Linked DNA regions of Homo sapiens: region 2 is linked to region 1. The links are contacts of gene promoters, found by promoter capture Hi-C in blood cells and fetal thymus (Javierre and others, 2016). All regions are on one chromosome and are shown on one strand. Each heading gives the region's core, a stretch centred on a gene start or on the middle of the fragment in contact. The rest is flanking DNA. Distances are from core to core; before and after follow the strand shown. Region 1 holds the start of LBX1 (ladybird homeobox 1). Region 2 overlaps FGF8 (fibroblast growth factor 8).

Region 1 (2,746 bases), core at 93-2,592:
TAGGTCCTCCCCTCCTTTCTCCAAGGGCAGAAATGGAAAATTAGTAAGGAGGCCAGTGGCCCCACATAAACAGAATGGGGTAGCAAGACAGGAAGGCCTGAGGGCACAGCCCTGCTGGAATGCCTCAGGGAAATGAAAGAAATAGCTGAGTTCAAACACACCTATATACCCACAGGTTCACACACATTTACACAAATATACGCATGGAGAAACACACACAAACACACATTCAAAAACACAAACACCTTCAAGTAACAATGCACACAACATGTTCTCCCGATATTCACAGATCCCGGGCCCTAAGGTCTTTAGCCCCAGCCTAACTGGAAGCCTGGCCTCCCTGCGAGTTCCTGAGAGCAAAGCCCCAGCCGCGGCCTGGCTCCCGCCGGGCCCCCGCCCCGCATCCGGAACAGCTGGAGTCGGCCTGGCCATGCACTCAAGCCGGGCGCTGGGCTAGGCGGGGCCGGCAGCGGGGCCCCGGCCGGGGCCCGGGCGGAGCGCAGCAGGGAGGCACGGAGCCGGCCCCGTTAGCCCCGGCACCTGGCCTGGCTACTCTTCAGACGCCCATCATCAGGCCGTTGGTGGCCCCAGCCAGCCTGGGGAGCGGCTGCCGGAGGAAAGTGAGCAAGATTGCCGGAGGAGGTAGGGCGGCCGCTTCGGAATCAGGCCGGGGAGAGGCGTCCAGAGCCGCCAACAATTCCCTCCTCCGCCTCTCCGCGTGGAGAAGGCTGAGCTCTCCGACTAGCCCCCTCCCCCAACCCCTGGGGTCCTCCACCCCCTTCCCGCGTCGCCCACCCAAGGCTGCGCAGCCGGCTCTGACCTCCTGCGGGCCAGCGCAGGAGGGCTTCAGATTCCCTCTCCCCAGGCGCGTCGCCCAGGCAGTGGGGTGAGGGGCAAGAGGGTCAGAGGTAGAGGCGCTGGGCTCTTGATCTCAGCTCCGCAAAGTCCACTCTGGGTGGCAGCGGGGCCCACCCGGGCTCCTGGTCCTACCTGGCCCGAGCGGCGGCCGCGTCCCTCCCGGGCTGGGGTTCCCACCACTCTTTCGGGCTCCACATCCCGGGTCGGAGAGACCGAGACCTTCGGGCCGGTGCGGTCATTGCAGCTAGGCCGGCGGGAGGCGGGTGCGCCAGGAGCGCGGCTCGCAGTTTGGGGTGGGGGCGGTGGCTTTTCAGTCGCCCGAGGTTCGGGTGCAATAAAGGAGCAGCTAATGTAATTTACAAACAGCTCGGGCCGAACGCAGCGCAGCGCCCGGACTGACAGGCGCATTAGGCAGGCTAATTCCAGCCGGCTCCTCCTACCCCCGGCCCGCTAATTAATGAGCTTCCCAACTTACAGCCGCCTGCATTGGACAGACAGAGAGTGAAAGAGAGGGCGAGGGAGAGGGAGAGAAGGAGAGAGAAGGGGGGAGCAGAGAAGAGAGAAGAGAGAGGGAGGGAGGGAGAGCGAGAACAGGAGGAGAGAACAGAGGCAAAGAAGAGAGGAAAAAGGGAGAAAGGAGAGAGAAAGAGAAAGAAGTGCCGCTGCAGATAATTGATTACACCGCGATCAAGGCTAACTTGTTAGCAATAGTCAATTGCCCCGTCTCTCCGCCTCCCTCGCAGTCCGGGATCGGCGCCCTCGCCTCGGCTCTTCCAACTGCGGCCGCCAGGACCCGGGGCCAGGAGCCACTGCCGAGCCACCTGACACCTTTAAATAGCACCGGGGTTGGCGAAACTGGAGCCCCGCGCAGCGCGCCCCGGCTCCGGCCCCGGATTGCTGGAAGCCCCAGCAGCAGCGGCGCCCGCGTCAGCGCCCTCTTCCCGGGGCCCCGCGCTGTTCTCCCCTCCTCAGCCGCCGCGCTAATCGGCCCCGCGCCCGGCCCGCGCCCTGCCCAGTGCGGCCTCCTTTCCACCCGCCGCTGCCTGCCCGCGCCGTCCGGCGCCCGAGCTGCCCGCGGGCTGGGTCCCCGCGGCCCGAGCCGCCCCGGCCGGGACCCCGAACAAGGCCGAGATGACTTCCAAGGAGGACGGCAAGGCGGCGCCGGGGGAGGAGCGGCGGCGCAGCCCGCTGGACCACCTGCCTCCGCCTGCCAACTCCAACAAGCCACTGACGCCGTTCAGCATCGAGGACATCCTCAACAAGCCGTCTGTGCGGAGAAGTTACTCGCTGTGCGGGGCGGCGCACCTGCTGGCCGCCGCGGACAAGCACGCGCAGGGCGGCTTGCCCCTGGCGGGCCGCGCGCTGCTCTCGCAGACCTCGCCGCTGTGCGCGCTGGAGGAGCTCGCCAGCAAGACGTTTAAGGGGCTGGAGGTCAGCGTTCTGCAGGCAGCCGAAGGTAGGCGCAGCTGCTGGGTTCCCCTGCACCCAGCGCCTCGCGCCCTGTGCCCTGCGCGCTTCGTCCCCTATGCCTCTGCTCGCCTCTGCCCTCTCCGGCCGCCAGGGCCTTCCAGCCTGAGCAGCTGCTTATGGGAGTGAAGATATGTGGGACGGGACCCAATCCTTATTTCCCAGGGACCTCTGGGTAGGCCAGAGCTGGGGGGTGGCAGGAGAAGGGTGGCCAAGCTCTTTCCGCAGTCTGCTTGCTTTGCCGGGCTCCCTTGCGTTCCCAGTGTCCTGGGCGCTCTTAGCCCGGCTACTCGGCGTGGGGAATCGAGAGTCTTTTGCCGGGGACCTTATGGGTAGGGTAGAGTTGAAGTGATTGGGAAGGGATGGAGAACCAACATTCACACCGCAATTAGGGTGTCTCTGTCTGGCTTTCTCATACCCT
Region 2 (2,746 bases), core at 137-2,636, 540 kb before region 1:
CGATTGGGTGCAGGAGTGAGGGAGAAGGAAGCTGTTTGAGAGATGAAAACTATAAAAGGCGAAGGAGGAAGAATGAAGGCTAGGGAAGGGGCTGGGGGGTGGTGGTTGGTAAATTCCATATATCTTTTTAACAAATCGCCAAATTGCTTTGCTATTATGTCCAATTACATGGTACCAGCATTTGGAATGTTCAGTAAGCCGCAGGCCCAGCCCCTCGGCCGAGCTCTGAAATGGCTCCATTAGTCACGGCTCCTCTCCAGCCTCGAGCTCCCCACTTCCTGGGCTTCTGGGGCTGGGGTCTTAGCATCTTCTCCCAGGCCTCCCCTCCCCCATAGGGTGGCTGCCCTGGGGCCAGGGAACCGAAGTCCTGGGGGGGTGAGAGGGGCAGGTGGGGAGACGGGTGGCCAGACTGGTGGGCAGGAGGCCAGAGCAGGCCAGGCTCTGGGCCCCTCTCTCTGTCTTTCTGCGTTGGGGCCCAGCCCCTCCGTAGACAACCATGTGTCACTGCTGCCTGGGAGGACAGGAAGTTGCCGGGTGGGCTGCGAGTTGTGAGGGATTAGAGAGCGGGTGCCCAGGCAGGGGGTGGGGCTGCGGCTCCTGCCCACCTCGCCATCTGCTGGGGTGCCCACCTGCTGTCTGGGGCCGCTCGCCCTCTGCCTCTGCTGGGGGGGCTCTGTAACGTGGTGTCTGGCTCCCCTACCTGCAGAGCAACGGCAAAGGCAAGGACTGCGTCTTCACGGAGATTGTGCTGGAGAACAACTACACAGCGCTGCAGAATGCCAAGTACGAGGGCTGGTACATGGCCTTCACCCGCAAGGGCCGGCCCCGCAAGGGCTCCAAGACGCGGCAGCACCAGCGTGAGGTCCACTTCATGAAGCGGCTGCCCCGGGGCCACCACACCACCGAGCAGAGCCTGCGCTTCGAGTTCCTCAACTACCCGCCCTTCACGCGCAGCCTGCGCGGCAGCCAGAGGACTTGGGCCCCCGAGCCCCGATAGGTGCTGCCTGGCCCTCCCCACAATGCCAGACCGCAGAGAGGCTCATCCTGTAGGGCACCCAAAACTCAAGCAAGATGAGCTGTGCGCTGCTCTGCAGGCTGGGGAGGTGCTGGGGGAGCCCTGGGTTCCGGTTGTTGATATTGTTTGCTGTTGGGTTTTTGCTGTTTTTTTTTTTTTTTTTTTTTTTAAAACAAAAGAGAGGCTCTATTTTTGTATTCCACTTGGCTGTGGTGTCTGTCTTCTTAACTCTCAGAAAGCTCCATTAGTGGCCTAGACTGGGATTCCGGCTGGGGGTTTGCGGGGGTGGGGGGCTTTCTCTAGCCTGTGCTGCTGAGGCCCCAGTACCTCCAGGGCCAGTTGGCTGGGCAGCCAGGGACTCCACTGCACCCCCAGGTGGGGCAGGGAGGAAAGGACTGTGACATAGGGCAGTCCTCTTAGAAGTGGGTATCAGACTGGTGGCTATTAAATGATTGAAATATTTATTTAACTTGCATATTAAAAATGTGTGCTGGAGAGTGAGTCCTGCCGGGGTCAGCCCCTCCCTCCAACCTTGCCCCAGCTGGTGGGCGGCTGGGAGACGCAGATGACCAGGTGCCAGCTCTGACCACAGCCTCCCTCCAGCCTAAAGACACCTGCCTGTCAACCATCCCCATCACTGTCACTTGAGGGGTTTTCCTGCAAGGACAGAAGCAGGGAAAGGGGCAAGAAGAGGCTCTTAGCTAGTCCTTGGAGCTCTCAGATGTGTACCTCCTAGCACTTTACAGAGGTCATTGCTAACACTTCCCCAGGCCACCTCAGGGCCAGAAATAATGGATGTGCTAGGGCTAGAGCTGTAATCATGGATTTAATCCTCTTAAAAAGTGCTTCTCTGAGTGCCTAGGTCCATGTGGGAGACAGGTTGGAGATTCCAGAACTTGCTCTTTCTGAGACTCAGGCTCCAGAAAATGAAAGAAAAGAGCAGCTGCCAGGGTCCAAGGTGGGGGCATATTGGAGGGGGACCACCAAGACTGGTGTTGACAATGGTGATGTGGGACAAGTGTTAACCTTGGGTGATATGGTGAGATAGCTGTGGGCAGAAAGCACTGAGCTGAGGTGCGGTGAGGAGCCTGGGGAACTGTCTTCCAGGAAGAGGCTGCCCACCTCGGAGGATGGGCCTGGCGGGAGAGGAGCTGGGCACCGGATGGCACCAGAAGGGAAGCTCATAGGCCTAGCGCAGAACTAAAGGCAGTCATAGCCTTGGGGAGAAGCAGGAGGCCGTATGTGGAGGGAGGGAGGGCTGCTGTGGGAGTGGTGGAGCAGGTCATGGTGTGGGCAGAGAAGGGAATGGGCAAGGGTGCAGGTGTGTGTTTGCGTGTGGACTGGTGAGACTGGTGTCCTGCCACACCGAGGGAGAGCCCAGGCCCCACGGCAGTTTCCTGAGTGCAGAGCTGGCCCAGGCTTCATCGCTGAGGCCTCCCATTAGGGCTGCTCCTGCTTCCTTCCTTGTGGATGCCCTGGGCTGGTCCCACAGCCCAGCTACTGAGCCAGTCTAGAAACCTCGCTCCTCTAGGACTCTGTCCATTGGCATCTCCTGGGGTAGGGAGCAACCCAAGGCTTCCTCCCACAGTTTCAGGCCCAAGTCCCAGGTTTAGCCCACCCCGGCAGATCAGGAATTTCGAGGCTTAGTGGGAAGCCCGGCAGTAAAGGCTGGCCTGTCCAGCCACCTCTCGTGGCCTGCCACAGGCGGTGAGGGGCTCTGGAGAGAGTGGG

The links. Contacts are between HindIII fragments. The CHiCAGO score rates a contact against its expected background, and 5 or more counts as called.
Region 2: a contact is called between a fragment that was not itself captured here and the fragment with the promoter of LBX1 in region 1, in 2 of 17 cell types (endothelial precursors and erythroblasts). The highest score is 7.6, in endothelial precursors.

What each region holds. Positions count from the first base shown.
Region 1 is chr10:101,228,059-101,230,804 of GRCh38, reverse strand. It overlaps LBX1 (ladybird homeobox 1), which reads left to right and starts at 1,342. Exons shown (of 2, transcript NM_006562.5): 1 at 1,342-2,314. The coding sequence starts at 1,990. It overlaps LBX1-AS1 (LBX1 antisense RNA 1), which reads right to left and starts at 1,211. Exons shown (of 3, transcript NR_029380.1): 1 at 991-1,211. The HindIII fragment of the contact is 27,362 bases long and covers 1-2,746 here.
Region 2 is chr10:101,768,580-101,771,325 of GRCh38, reverse strand. It overlaps FGF8 (fibroblast growth factor 8), which reads left to right. Exons shown (of 6, transcript NM_033163.5): 6 at 707-1,217. The coding sequence ends at 997. LOC105378457 (a long non-coding RNA gene) reads right to left here. Exons shown (of 3, transcript XR_946253.3): 2 at 701-769. Among named protein-coding and RNA genes, the nearest start is that of FGF8, 6.2 kb to the left of the region's middle. RefSeq lists enhancers at 416-1,193, 2,690-2,746. The HindIII fragment of the contact is 7,236 bases long and covers 1-2,746 here.